2 separate regions of the Homo sapiens genome follow, and region 2 is linked to region 1. Evidence: promoter capture Hi-C in 16 types of primary human blood cells and fetal thymus (Javierre and others, 2016). All regions are on one chromosome and are shown on one strand. The core of a region is centred on a gene start or on the middle of the fragment in contact, and the rest is flanking DNA. Distances in the headings are between cores, read along the strand shown. Region 1 overlaps COG2 (component of oligomeric golgi complex 2). Region 2 holds the start of EGLN1 (egl-9 family hypoxia inducible factor 1).

Evidence for each region. The method cuts DNA at HindIII sites, captures the fragments that hold promoters and counts their contacts. A CHiCAGO score of 5 or more calls a contact.
Region 2: a contact is called between the fragment with the promoter of EGLN1 here and a fragment that was not itself captured in region 1, in 2 of 17 cell types (naive CD8 T cells and total B cells). The highest score is 5.6, in naive CD8 T cells.

What each region holds. Positions count from the first base shown.
Region 1 is chr1:230,643,024-230,650,862 of GRCh38, reverse strand. All of the region lies in intron 1 of COG2 (component of oligomeric golgi complex 2), which reads right to left. Among named protein-coding and RNA genes, the nearest start is that of COG2, 4.5 kb to the right of the region's middle. RefSeq lists a silencer at 6,716-6,835. The HindIII fragment of the contact is 5,232 bases long and covers 2,470-7,701 here.
Region 2 is chr1:231,418,135-231,425,973 of GRCh38, reverse strand. EGLN1 (egl-9 family hypoxia inducible factor 1) reads left to right here and starts at 3,687. Exons shown (of 5, transcript NM_022051.3): 1 at 3,687-4,976. The coding sequence starts at 4,086. RefSeq lists silencers at 3,222-3,546, 3,302-4,481 and an enhancer at 4,862-5,131. The HindIII fragment of the contact is 5,790 bases long and covers 742-6,531 here.

The sequences.
Region 1 (7,839 bases), core at 3,836-6,335:
AGTCAAGATGGATTAAAAACTTAAATGTGTAAGACCTGAAACTATAAAAATCCTAGAAGAAAACCTAGGAAAAATTCTTCTGGACATTGGCCTAGGCAAAGGATTTATGACTAAGACCTCAAAGCAGATGCAACAAAAACAAAAATAGACAAATGAGACTTCGTTAAACCAAAAAGCTCTGCAGAGCAAAAGAAATAGCAGTGTAAACAGGCAATCTACAGAATGGGAGAAAACATTTGGAAATCATACATGCAACAAAAGACTAATATCCGGAGTCTACAAGGAACTTAAATCAACAAGAAAAAAACAAGTAACCCCATTAAAAAGTGGGCAAAAGACATGAACAGACATTTCTCAAAAGAAGACATACAAGCATCCAACAAACATATGAAAAAATGTCCAACATAACTAATCATCAGAGAAATGCAAATTAAAATTACAATGAGATACCATCTAACACCAATCAGAACAGCTTTTATTAAAAAGTCAAAAAACAACACTGGATGTGAGAAAAAGGAATGCTTATACACTGTTGGTGAGAATGTAAATTAGTACAGGTTCTATGGAAAACAGTATGGCGACTTCTCAAAGAACTAAAAATAGAACTACCATTTGACCTAGTAATCCTAATAGGGAACATCCACCCAAAGGAAATCATTATATAAAAAAAGACACCTGCACTCCTATGTTTATTGAAGCCCTATTCACAATAGCAAAGTCATGGAATCAACGTGTCTATCAACGGAGGATTGGATAAAGAAAATGTGGTGCATTTATACCACAGAATACTATGCAGCCTTAAAAAGATGAAATCATGTCTTTTGCAGCAACATGGATGGAGCTGGAGGTCATTATCCTAAATGAACTAACTCCGAAACAGAAAGTCAAATACCACATCATCTCCCTTCTAAGTGGGACATAAATGATGGGTATATGTGGACATAAAGATGGAATTAATAGACACTGGGGACTTGAAAGGGGAAGTGCTGGAGGAAGATGAGGGCTGAAAAATTATCTATTGGGTACAACATTCACTGTCTGGGTGATGAACACACTAGAAGCACAAACCTCACCATTACACACTATAACCACATAATAAACCTGTACATGTACCTCCTGAATCTAAAATAAAATAAAATAAATAAGTAACAAAAGAAAAACCACAATGAGATACCCAATAAATAAATAAATAATCACTGCTGTAATTACAGGGGGCACAGCAATGAAAAGCAAAGACAACATTCCTGTTCTCAAGGAGCATATATTCTAATGGGGAAATGAGAAAATAAACATGTAAACAAACATTATGAATAGTGGTAAGTGCTACAAAGAAAATAAAATGGAACCCTATGAAAGCGAGTGATGAAAAGGGGATAGAAGACCCTTACAAAGTGGTATCTGAGCTGAGATCTGAATGTCATGAAGGCAACAGCCATGGGAAAGACTGTGGGAAGGGAACCCTTCCTCACAACAGCAAGCTATGGGCAAAAACGTCCCTGGAGCTCTTCCCTCCAGCCCCTGCCCTCAAACCTAGTGCTGTCCCCAGTGCAGGGTGGCTCCATTGACACATGACCCAGTTAGTCTGGAACTCGTGTCTTCCAAGGCTCATTCTAAACCTTTATTTGGTTACCAAATTACTGAAGCCTGAGAAATTAAAAATGTATGCTAAAGTGTTTTCCAGCATCTATGGACAGATGATATTAGAAGTTTTATGAAACAGTAGCACTTAAGTTCTAAATAACTTATTATGTTTAAATGGATTAATCAATTTTATGTCTAAATCCTCTGTTCAATACCGTATCTGTGTTTGATGTATTTACGAGAAGGCAAAGAAAACCTATAACCTGTCACTTCCATTTAACAAATATTTGTGCTCTGTCCCAGCTGATTTCTTCTCTTTCTCTCTCCTTTTTACCCCAGTTTAACACTAATGACAATCTATGTGGTCTTCTAGCTTACTTTCTCAACTTAATTTCTTGAGCTCTTAAGCAGAATGATCTCATTCTGAAGTGCTTACTGCTGTGGGTGTATTAGGGACACCTGAGAAAGCCCAAGCCCCATTTTGTGATTAATTTGGTTAGTTAAATCCTCAAAGAAATTTGATGTTAAATGCTGTATGACTGAACAACAAAGATCTATTTACATGATGCTTATCTAACTTTGAACAAAGAAATATCCCAAGTAATAAAAACTCAAGGGACCATGAGTTCAACATTTTATTCAAGTAATACATTTTATAATATTGCAAGAAGTGACTTGGAAAATTTTTGCATACCAAAGAACTTCTTTTTACCAAAGGCCAACTGAATAAACTGTGTATGTCCAATGGTACTGATCTCATACCATCAAGAAAAGTATTTCACATTAGGAAATCGCTCCACATGTGGGTAATTAGAAAATTCTGTGACAATCAGTCTCAAATATATTCTTTATTTGTGTTGCAAACTGAAGCTAAAGAGAATTCAAGCTTTTCATGAAGACCAAAAATGAAACCATGAACCTGTAAGGTCAGCATTTTAGTTGCTGTGAAATGATGGCACATGCTGTGCCCGGCACTCAGCAACACTGGGCTGTTGCCTTCACACTTACATCCGCTTTCCTGTATCTCATCTACAGGCCAAGAGTCCAGATCACTAGATGGGTTACAATTTGTTTTAAATTAAGTGATGGCCCTCAATCTTGTCCCTACTGATAAAATGCATGTGCTTTAGCATAGGGACTATGTGACATTTTTGGGCTGTTCTCAGTATTCAAAATCACACATTCCAAAGTTTCTACCATCTAGAAAGGAAAGCATGACACGATTATTTTTCCAGTACTGAAGCCTGGGAGTCATGAGATAATGGCCCTGGGTTGCCCCAGTTAGCTGTGTGACTCTGGGGGAAGTCACAACATCTCTGGACCTCAGTTTCTTTATCTGCAAACTGGAAGAATCTACTACAGTTGTCCCTCTGTATCCGAGCATTCCACACCCTCTAATTCAATCAGTCATTAATTGAAAAGAGTCTTTAAAAAAATAATTAAAAAAATAAAAAGTAATGCAAATAAAAATACAGTATAACAACAATTTCACTGTATTAGGTAGTATAAGTAATCTAGAGGTGATTTAAAGTATTCCAGAGGATGTAAGTAGGTTATATGCAAATACTACACCATTTACAAGAGGGTCTTGAGCATTTGCAGATTTTGCTATCTGTGAAGGGGTGGGAGGTGTCCTGGAATCAATCCTCTGCGGATACTGAGGGGCAACTGTAAGTTTCTTTATTCACAGAAACATAAAACGACAAGAGCCAGAAACACTGCAAAGAGTATTGAGATAAGCATCACCCCATGACATAAATGAGGAAACTGAAGCCCGCAGAGGCCAGCGATTTGCACAAAATCACACGAGTGCTCAGCAGAGCTGAAACTGGGGCCCACATCTCCAGGTCACTGCTATTCAATCAGCCAGGCATTATTCTCTTGGACACACCTCCTGTTTCAATATTCCCTATTTACACACTTAGAATACAGATGAGCCTCAGAACTACAGTAAGGGGTCCCCTTATCTGAGGGAGATATATTCCAAGACCCCCAGTCAATGCCTGAAACCACAGATAGTACCCAACTCTATATACGCTATGTTTTTTCAATCAGATAACCAAGATAGCTACTAATCAATAGAAACTGTCCATCAGTGCAATAAGCTGCTCTGGAATACTTCCAAGTGTTCTGGAAAATGCTTTCTCATGTTTTCATGGTGTATACAGGTGGCAGTCTGATTACATACAAGCACCTGTTACATACAAGCACCGAGATGCGTTTTGAAAAGGGCACCCTGCCTGTGATGTAGAACACGGACTAGAAAAAGGCAAGAATGGATGCCAGGGGACTACAGTAAGAAGCCACTAGATTATAATGGCCAGAGATAATGATGAGTCAGAAAGTGGGAAAAGAGGAGATGGAGAGAAGTAGACAAATTTCAGAGATATTTGGGAAGTGAAATCCTAAGGCTTAGTAACAGGTTGGATTTCAAGAATGTGAAGGAGAGAGGTGTTATCAAGGATGACTCCTTGATAACATCTGACTCACAACCAGATGGATGGATTACCTCAGGTCTAGTATTACCTGAGATAGGTAATACCAGAAGAGAGCCAAGTTTGAGAGAAGGTTGGTTTTTTTCATCTTCCCCCAACAAATTCAGTTTTAAATATGCCGAGTTTGAGGTGCCACAGAGATAGCCAAGAAGAGATGTCAAGGCGCTGTGCACATGGGGTTGCAGATAAGAAGGTATTTGGGCCAGAAGTATGAACCTTTCACCTGTCTACACGTGGTCATTGAAGCTGCATGAAGTGGGTCACCTGCGGAAAGTGCACAGCATGTGAAAAGGAACAGACACGTGGCTGAGTCCATAACCCACCAATTAATGGCTAGGAGGAGAATGATTATGCAAAAGAGACAAGGAGACCAGAGAGGCCAAAAGATAACCAGAAAGCACCAGGTTTCAGAAAGCAAATGAAGGGAGCATTTGATCTACTGAGGTCAGGGAAGGAAGCAGAGAAGGTCTGGTGGATCGACTTCCATCTAGTTAACTTTGGTGAGAAGTCTTTAGTGGAATGATGGGGCCAGAAACCAGAGTGAAGTGAATTTAAGAGTGAAGGGAGAGAAAGTAAAGACAACATTTGGCTGTGAGCATTTGGCTGTGAGATGGAAGAGAGCGATGGGCTTTAACTGGAGGTTGGAGGGTCCAGTAGAAGAAACTAAAATAGGAGTGTGTCTGAAAGCCAATGGGAAGAAGTGTGGAGAGGGTGGGAATAACAGGGTCCTGAGAAGGGAGAGGGCACCGGATCCAGGCATGGGAGGCAGACCTCAGGAGGAAGGAAAGACCCCTACACCAGCGTCCCCAACTACCTGTGGGGAACCGGGTGGCCCAGCAGGAGGAGCGCAGCCTGTATTCACAGCCACTCTGTATTGGAGCTCCGCCTCCTGTCAGATCAGTGGCAGCACTAGATTCTCATAGGAGCATGGACCCTACTGTGAACTGCACATGCGAGGGATCTAGGTTAGGCACTCCTTATGAAAACCTAATGCTGAATGATCTGTCAGTGTCTCCCATCACCCCCCAGACAGGACTGTCTAGTTGCAAGAAAACAAGGTCAGAGCTCCCACTGATTCTACATTACGGTGAATTTTATAACTATTTCATTATGTATTACAATGTAATAATTATAGAAATAAAGTGTACAATAAATGTAATGCGCTTGAATCACCCCAAAACCATCCCCTGCACTCCTGGTCCATGGAAAAATTGTCTTCCAAAAGTGTCAAAAAGGTTGGGGACCATTGCCCTACACAACAGGTTAATGATGGGAGTGAGAACAGGTACAAATGCAAGAACGAGGTTGCTGTCAGCAAGATGAAGGAGCTACCGCTTGATGGCCTCTATTTTTTCTGTAAAACACATGAAGTCATACGTGAGACAGAAGGATATGATTGCCACAGCATACCTAGGTTAAGTGGGTTTAAGTTATCCCTGTTAGCCTACCACCTCTCTCCTACTACCAGTATCTTACATCCTAATTCATCTACTGATTGTCAACCCTCTCTAAGAGTGTTTGTACATTTTCTTTTTTTTTTTTTTTTTTTTTTTGACAGGGTCTCTTTCTGTTGCCCAGGCTGAAGTGCAGTGCTGCAATCCTGGCTCACTGCAGCCTTGACCTCCACAGGCTCAGGTAATCCTCCCACCTCAGCCTCCCAAGTAGCTGGGACTACAGGTATGTGCCACCACACCTGGCTAATTTTTCAATATTTTGTAGAAATGCATTCTCACTATGTTGCTCAGTGTGTATATTTTATTAAGCTGACGAAGTCAACAGTATCATGCCATTACCACCTTTGACCCCTCAAGTGATTCGTTCATCTGCCACTCCTGCTTTTTGATCATTTACGTAATATTTTCCACAAACTATCCCCTCCTGTATTTCTCAGATCTCATAAAAACCACTGAAATAACTTTTTAAGTAGCCTCCCGCCACCAGTCAGTTCCAACTGCAACATACATGATCATGTCATTTCCTGCTTTTAACCTGACTGTAACTCCACAATGAATACTAAATCAAGTGCAAATCCGTCAGTACAGTATACAAGGCCCATTGAAACCTGCACACAGCAGGTGATCATGGAATGCCCACTGACTGAACAATTGCTACCACTGCACTAGCATGCCCTCATGATCTATGGCAACCTAAACACAGTTTCCCATCAACACCAGAAGAGACGTAATACCAGAAGAGAGGTAATAACAGAAGAGAGTGGATTTCAAGCAACTTTAAATCTGGATTTTCAAGCAATCTCAAATCTCCCAATGCAAATGTCATATCCCAACTTTCTCACACGTACAAAACCTATCCAATTACAAAATGTGCTGAATGAGACACAAACATAGAAATATAGCCTGGACAAGTGTTCCAACCATCCTTTCTGCCATGGAAGTGCAACTTATATGTAGTTTTATATGTTTAAGGCAACACAAATTGCAAATAACCTTTATCTTCAAGCTCCACCTAAAAAATCAACAAAATTTTACACAGAACAGCTGTTCTATGTATTTTCTTCTATGTATGTTGTCACTTTTATAAGCACTACAAAATGTACCGCATATTCACAGAGCCACGAAATATGCAATTGCTGGCATTCCAGCCACCACCCCAGTTTGCACTCTAAGTTCTATTTTAGAACTTGTATTTCTGTGATTTCACTTCCTGAAGCTGCATTTACCAAAGGCATTCTGTCAACTCAGAGTGGGAAAGGTGGTGGGGCTAGTGAGTCAGAGAAGATGCTGGTGTTGAGCCTTAAGAAGTCAAGAGATGGACAAACTGAGATTATTCTGTACTCTGAGATTCTTGACGTCAACAAGGCCCCTGATCTCCGTGTATGGCCTTTCCTCTTCCAGGGCACCTCTCCCCAGCATGTACCCTTAGCTGTTTCTTTCTACCCTCATTTCAGGGTAGCTCTTAGCCAGTAGGCAAAACGAAGGGTTTCTGGATCAATGAGTTGATTCTGTACATTCTTTGAGACATCCTAATGAAGTTACACCTTTTAGTACAGTGGTCTAATAGGAATATCACTTACAAGAATAAGGTACATTATTCCTGGGTATAGATAAGTCCTACATACGAAAAATGATATGGTCACACTGGAGAAGATACAGATCTACTTTAAAAAAAAACAGCTTTGGAGATGTAATCTGAATGCAAATATTATCAAAAAGAGATAGGCTAATTAATCTAGAAAACATTATGTCACCAAGAAAGGCAGAGTAAGATTTCAACTCACTTGCTCAAAATTGTAGATGTCTACTAACCAGCTAAAACTTTTCGCTTTTTAACACTGAAAGCAGCTACTAAAAGGTGTCAAAAATCCTAGTCCTCAGGAAATTAAATAGAAACATTTTTTGAATGGCTTAAGTGCAGACCCAGAGGGATACACCAAGTAGGAGCAAAGCTCCTCCCAGCTCTCACTCAAAGCCTGGCCATTTTCAAGGCTGTGCCTGATGAACTTTATCATCAGTGAAGTGTTTTCAGTTTATATTTCTTTTCTCTAAGTTTATGACCTACAACTACCAACTTCTTCAAATGCATCACGTAAAAAGTAGAGCAACTTCTTTAAAGAGTAATGGTTTGCTTTGTCGTACTGCAATAGTCGGTAAGAATGTTCTAAGCTTCTAAATATCCCATTCTGGAAGCTTTAGCTGAATGTTAAGCAAAACTTCAGATTAAGTTCTTTTTCTTTCCGACCCGAGTCCCTAGGAAAGTACGTGGGCTTGGAGATTTATTCAACACACACTTAATGAGCTCCAAG
Region 2 (7,839 bases), core at 2,438-4,937, 780 kb before region 1:
CATTAAGGTAATGTTTGTTAGGAAAAAAAATTAGATCGACACGTTATTTAGTATCCCAGGTTTTTGAGCATTTATTTAAAAAATTCGCTATAATGAGAGATGATTATAAATTTTTGTTATATTTCTGAGATGATCAATTTTAACAGGATTGGTGGTAATTTTTCAATCATAAACTGATAAAGTTTGATGACTGATAAATCGCCCCAATATATAGCAAATCTATTCAATTATTTTGTTTTCATAAGGGAACAACCTTGGTGGAAAGTACAGCTGTCTCCATGTACAAGGAGAAGCACATAGCTCACGTGTGCATCTGGCAGAACCCCCAGTACAGAGACAAGCAGGTGCTGTTTTCCAATGACACCTACTTGTGTGTGTCCTAATACTATAGTTAGAAAATGGCTCAGATTTTTGAGTTGCTTTTCCCAGAACTCAAAGATTGTCTTCCTGTTTATCTTGGTGGAATGCCTATGCTATACTTGTGATTTTTCTGTTCTCTGTAACCTATTAAAACAAGATTGTCACAGATGGGGAAACAAGAGGTCATTAGTTAACAATCAGATGTTCGATTTCTTGAGCAGAAAAGATACTCTGTTGTGTTTTTAAAAACATTTTTAAAGGAGAAATAGGGCTACTCCTTGGAAGGCAGATTGTTGTTCAGTGGGCTTTCCTCAAGAGTCAACACAGTCGTTTCTAAATTCATTTCCTCCTTCAATTCTGTTCTTGTAGTTAACATAAGCTTTGCCTCTTTTAGTTCTTGTCAGTTCACAGTGGCTACTTCTTTATAGCTTAACTAAATACTGCCAGAAGAGCAAAGGGAAGCCAAATAGGTGGTCAATTAGCTTTGTCTAAGTTGGTATGATATGGAGAGGAAAGCACTGTTACTTTAATTCATTCTTCAGTTTCTAGAACAGTTGCTTTTGATTAGGTTAGGGGCAGAAAAACATTTGTAATAATTAATGGCTTTGAGAGACACAAGGCTTTGTTTGCCCCAGAGTATTAGTTAACCCACCTAGTGCTCCTAATCATACAATATTAAGGATTGGGAGGGACATTCATTGCCTCACTCTCTATTTGTTTCACCTTCTGTAAAATTGGTAGAATAATAGTACCCACTTCATAGCATTGTATGATGATTAAATTGGTTAATATTTTTAAAATGCTTAGAACACAGATTGGGCACATAACAGCAAGCACCACATGTGTTTATAAGATAAATTCCTTTGTGTTGCCTTCCGTTAAAGTTTAAATAAGTAAATAAATAAATAAATACTTGCATGACATTTTGAAGTCTCTCTATAACATCTGAGTAAGTGGCGGCTGCGACAATGCTACTGGAGTTCCAGAATCGTGTTGGTGACAAGATTGTTCACCAGCATATGGTGTGGTGAAAACTCACTAATTTGGAATTAGTTCAGATTATTAAGCCTGAATAGGTGAAAATCCTGAAATCAAGGATCTTTGGAACTATTTGAAATCAGTATTTTATATTTTCCTGTTGTATTCATTAAAGTGTTGCAAGTGTTCTATTTGATGGATTAAGTATATTTAGGATATACATGTTCAATTTGTGATTTTGTATACTTAATTGGAACAAGAAAGCTAATAAAGGTTTTGATATGGACATCTATTCTTTTAAGTAAACTTCAATGAAAATATATGAGTAGAGCATATAGAGATGTAAATAATTTGTGGACACACCACAGACTGAAATAGCAAATTTAAAAGAAATTGTTGGAAGAATCAAGTGTTTGTGGAATGAGTCCTCCTAGTAAAGTTCCTGCTCTTGTGAATAATTAAGCCTCATGTATAATTACTATAGCAAAAGGAAGCCTAAGAAGTATTAGACTCTACTTGTATTTAAATTACATTTTACATAATTTATGTGTATGAAAAATGTTTTAAATGCTTATTTTCGTAAGCCATGAGATAGCTCCTTTATATTTTAAGAATTTCTGAATTAATTTGCTTGGATTTTATTAGTGCAAATGGCAGAGCTAGCAATTCCTTTTTCTGTGTTCCCATTCCATCCTATTCATCCCTCTTTTAGGAAACTCTGAACTCTGGATTGTCCTTGTTTACATACCTGCCTCCTGCATTGGACTATGTGTCTCTGAGTGTAGTATGACTAATTCATTTGTTTGTCAAGGACTCTCAATGCATTTGTTGAACAGCCTAATTAGTAATGTCTGCAACAATGACATTTTACTGTATTTAATAAAGCTCTGGGAAAGTAGGATACACATAAGACAGGTCTAGGTCTAAATTCTTTACAGAAACTTGGATTTTTAGTTCGGTTTGAAATTTGAAGATGTGAGTATATTTATCTCAGTTTCCCAAAGGACAAGCTAATTGGAATTATCATCCTCTTTCACTTGATTGGATCCCCAGAATGCCATTTACGCATGCAGCAGGATTTTATAACAGTTTTAAATTCTGTATATTTGATGAAGAGGTTTTATATTTTTGGATTCAAGCCTCTTTTTAAACTTCTACAATATGGTTTACAATAATTCCTTATATCCTGCTTTTGAAATACATATTACAACTTTTTAAGTTTGGAAGGCTATATTTCAAGGACTGAAGTTACAGTATACTCAAGTGATACACAAGCCTAGCACCCCACTTTCCACATAGTGTTCGATAAAGATTGATAAACTCGAAATCACAGACCTTTTAATTCTTAAGACAAATAGCAGCAGAAAGAAACATCTTTGGCTTATTTCTGGTAAGGTTTTTATGCTCTGTAAAACAAAGAATTGTATTCATCCGCGCAGCACAGATTCTATTAAAAATAAATGTGAGAGTCGTTAATGTAGTACTGCTCATTTACCATCAAAATTCACTTTTCAGGAATAATCCCATCAGTTTAAATTGGATATTGGAATGAGCATTGATTACATTTAACTTGGTAGCCCAAAATTTCTTCATGGGGTTTTGAACTCGGCGGGATTTCAAAGGTTTTAAAAATGAGTTTTTGATTTTTTTTAAAACCCTCAAATTTCATTACCTTTAAACTAGGTCGAAACGGGGCGCAAGAGATTGGATTAACACCATAGTAATACTTATTTTGTTCTTAACCATTTCAGGGCTTCTTGAAATAGAGGCTGTATGGTGTAATGGAAAAAACAGCCTTGGAATCTGGGAGCCTGATTCCTGGATTCAGTCCCAGTTTTGCGTGACCTTGGGCAAGTTACTTTACTTCTCTGAATTTCCGTTTCCTCCTCTGCAAAATGAGGATCGCAATAGCCACCTTGCAACCTTGACTGGAGCGAGCCTCGCACACCCCGCGCCGGCCTGGAGGAAGAGCAGCCATGATTACGCCGCCTTCGCTCCGCTACCCGCTTGCGGCTGGCGCCCTCCTCCAGCAGGTGTAGGCGCTGCCGCGCTGCCCCACGCCTTTCCGCCGCTCGCGGGCCTGCGCCTCGGCGTCCCCGAGGAGGCCGCTGCGGGCTGAGGTAGCGCACCGGCCTCTCGGCGTCCCAGTCCGGTCCCGGGCGGAGGGAAAGCGGGCGACCCACCTCCGAGGCAGAAGCCGAGGCCCGGCCCCGCCGAGTGCGGAGGAGCGCAGGCAGCCCCCGCCCCTCGGCCCTCCCCCCGGCCCTCCCGGCCCTCCCTCCGCCCCCTCCGCCCTCGCGCGCCGCCCGCCCGGGTCGCCGCGGGGCCGTGGTGTACGTGCAGAGCGCGCAGAGCGAGTGGCGCCCGTATGCCCTGCGCTCCTCCACAGCCTGGGCCGGGCCGCCCGGGACGCTGAGGCGGCGGCGGCGGCCGAGGGGGCCGGTCTTGCGCTCCCCAGGCCCGCGCGCCTGAGCCCAGGTTGCCATTCGCCGCACAGGCCCTATTCTCTCAGCCCTCGGCGGCGATGAGGCGCTGAGGCGGCTGCCGGCGCTGCGCCGGAGCTTAGGACTCGGAAGCGGCCGGGCCGAGGGCGTGGGGTGCCGGCCTCCCTGAGGCGAGGGTAGCGGGTGCATGGCGCAGTAACGGCCCCTATCTCTCTCCCCGCTCCCCAGCCTCGGGCGAGGCCGTCCGGCCGCTACCCCTCCTGCTCGGCCGCCGCAGTCGCCGTCGCCGCCGCCGCCGCCGCCATGGCCAATGACAGCGGCGGGCCCGGCGGGCCGAGCCCGAGCGAGCGAGACCGGCAGTACTGCGAGCTGTGCGGGAAGATGGAGAACCTGCTGCGCTGCAGCCGCTGCCGCAGCTCCTTCTACTGCTGCAAGGAGCACCAGCGTCAGGACTGGAAGAAGCACAAGCTCGTGTGCCAGGGCAGCGAGGGCGCCCTCGGCCACGGAGTGGGCCCACACCAGCATTCCGGCCCCGCGCCGCCGGCTGCAGTGCCGCCGCCCAGGGCCGGGGCCCGGGAGCCCAGGAAGGCAGCGGCGCGCCGGGACAACGCCTCCGGGGACGCGGCCAAGGGAAAAGTAAAGGCCAAGCCCCCGGCCGACCCAGCGGCGGCCGCGTCGCCGTGTCGTGCGGCCGCCGGCGGCCAGGGCTCGGCGGTGGCTGCCGAAGCCGAGCCCGGCAAGGAGGAGCCGCCGGCCCGCTCATCGCTGTTCCAGGAGAAGGCGAACCTGTACCCCCCAAGCAACACGCCCGGGGATGCGCTGAGCCCCGGCGGCGGCCTGCGGCCCAACGGGCAGACGAAGCCCCTGCCGGCGCTGAAGCTGGCGCTCGAGTACATCGTGCCGTGCATGAACAAGCACGGCATCTGTGTGGTGGACGACTTCCTCGGCAAGGAGACCGGACAGCAGATCGGCGACGAGGTGCGCGCCCTGCACGACACCGGGAAGTTCACGGACGGGCAGCTGGTCAGCCAGAAGAGTGACTCGTCCAAGGACATCCGAGGCGATAAGATCACCTGGATCGAGGGCAAGGAGCCCGGCTGCGAAACCATTGGGCTGCTCATGAGCAGCATGGACGACCTGATACGCCACTGTAACGGGAAGCTGGGCAGCTACAAAATCAATGGCCGGACGAAAGTAAGTGTGTGCTGCGGGTTTGTGCTGGACAGGCCCTTCTCGGCGGGCAGCCCCTGCCTGCGACTGAAACTGCCTAGGCTGAGAAGCAGCATTCCTCTATATAGAAGGGACTCGCTCTTTCTTGTGTAGCTCCCCGTAAGGAAGACGGACAGAATTTGTAGTAGCTGTTTATCTAGTTAGCCCCTTTGTATCCACTGTTTTCCACTTACTGCCCGTTCACAAACTTCTCCGGCTAATTGCATGGTTTTTTGACTCAACGTAGGCGCTTTAACTTTCCTATTTTCTTTTTTCCATTCCACTATTGGTCACAATTCAAACCTTAGTGGCGTTTTAGCCACCCAGTGAAGGGGTGTTAGAGTACCACCCAAAGCAAGTCCTGGTTCTGCATCTGCCTTGTGTTTGCATAAGCTGTTAAATTTCCTATGGTGTCTGAACCACTCATCACATTTCGATTGAGAGTCAAACGCTGTGTTCAGTTAGGAATTTGCCGGCTGACCGCAAAAAGGTACATTTAAAATAAGCATTTAGTCGAAAGACTCTGTATTCAGGAAGAGCTTGGCTACTCCCCTCCCCCTGTTATAGCTCTTATCCCTCACCCTGTTCCTACTGTTTTGAAACCCGTTACAAAAAGGGGAAAGAAGTATTTCCGTCTTCAGGCCTCTCAGTGTAGGTAGGCTACATTTTTAGCACCAGTTTCCTTTATTTGCTTTGTTAATGTAATCCTTCTGTTGAAAACTGTTTTGTAACTTCCTGGAAAACAAAACAAAACAAAACAACAACACGGAATTGGCGCAGGAGGGCTCGTTTTATCCTCCCAATTTGGTGAGATCTTTTTGTTTTCTCTTTACTATTGCGGTTTTTCCTCCACAGATTTCTTCACTTCTTACCTAGTCTATTCCCTCTTTCCTCCCTCATGATAAACAGTAGACTCTTTCGTCCTTAACCAACTCTCTTGCAGCTCTTTTTCATTTTACTTCTCAGATCTTGATCTTTTCTTTGTGGCTGCTCCCAGGCCACCCTCCTCCACCATCAGTCTCTGATTTTGTGGGTTTTGAGAGATTGACCTGGGAGAGCATCACAGTTGCATGTTTGTACACACACGCTGACTCTAACTAGTGGTTTTTCTGTATGTGTGTGTCAGATCATCTACTTTGACAGTCATTACATGTGATTCTCAGGCTGCCCGAAAGACTGAACATAGGCAGTGAGAAAGTTATAAACGTGAACATTTTGTGGGGAAAAATACAATGTGGAGTCTAATTTACCTATTGCCACTTCATTGCTGGATGAAGGCACAAGTCTTAATTTCTTGTAGTCTTAAAAAGGAACAGTTGAATAATATTAAACTGGAAGGAAAAGGGGGATCTGATGAAATTTCAGCGTTGGTCTTTCACTAGATTTTCATTGATAAAATTTTTAAGAAAGTTGTCAGGGCACAACTTTAAGAAATTGTCACATCTGAACATAAAGTCCTGAGCTCCAGAGCAGGAAAGAAATTAGTTTGAGACAATAGGGCTGTGAAGACTGACCAAAGTATATAGTTGGGACATAAGCTTAAATTGGATTCTTGAAGAAGATGATGTCCCAAATCTTTCTTGATCTGCTTTCCTTAGTTAATTTAGCTTTCCAAGTTAAGCTGAGACCTCTTTTCTCTTTTGTCTTCCTGCTTTCACCTGTCCTTAGAGAAGGGACAGCAGACAGCCTGGCTCTTAGAGCAAATGCTTCTCATAGAGATGCTATTAGGAAATAGGTACCTCCTTCCTCAAGAGTTCTAGTTGTTGGGGTTTTAAGTCACGTAACTGTACATATTAGCAGGTAATAAGGGACAGGATGAAGGAGGGATGACCTTTAAACTCTTTGGATTTGATCTGCTTATATTAATTTTAGGGACGCAACTTCAGGATCTATAAATGATATTCAGGAATTCCTTTCATTGTACTTCTTGGCTGAAAGAGGTTTTGGTAATCGTGTTTGAACATGTAATTTATTCCTAAAAAACAAGGGTGTTTGCTTTGTGGAAATGAGAAGGCAATCAAAATAACCACCCACCGTATATTGAGCAACCAACCACAGTGTGTTAGGCATCATATTAGGATCAATACAGATACAATCAGAGTATTTTTTTTTTTTTTTTTGGAGACAGGGTCTTGCTTTGTTGCCCTGGCTGGAGTACAAGGGTGTAAGCATGGCCCACTGCAGCTTCCACCTCCTGGACTCAAGCTATCCTGCCATCTCAGCTTCCGAGTAGCTGGGACTGTAGGCACACACCACCATACTTGGCCAAATGAAAAAAAATTTTTTTTGTAGAGTCAGGGTCTTGCTGATCATTTGATCTCGAACTCCTCGGCTCAGGGGATCCTCCTGCCTTGTCCTCCCAAAGTACTGTGGTTACAGACTTGAACCACCTCACCTGGCCACAATAATCTTAATTCTGTGAAGTGAGTAGTGTTATTCCTAATTTACATTTGAGGGATTTTCAGCTCAGACTTGGCAGAGGTCTACCACTTACTATAACCCTGGCTGGTGTTCAAACTTAAGTCATTCAGATATCAAACCCATGCTCTTTTTTAACTACGCTAGTTATAGGTAGAACATTAAATGAGATGTAGATTATTTAGCACACTGCTGGAACTGCAATTTGATACATATATTTTGTTGAAAGTGGGTGAATAGCACTAGCTTTATATGTGAGTAATCATACTCTATGGTTGGGCTGTGTAAAACTTTTTATTAGGTGACTGTACAATGTTTATTTCAGATAGTGGCTTAAAAGCCACTTTTGTATTTATCCACCTGAATTATGCGCCTGTCAGTATACTGTTAACAGATGTCAGAATATGGTTTTTTTATGTGATTGCAGAGG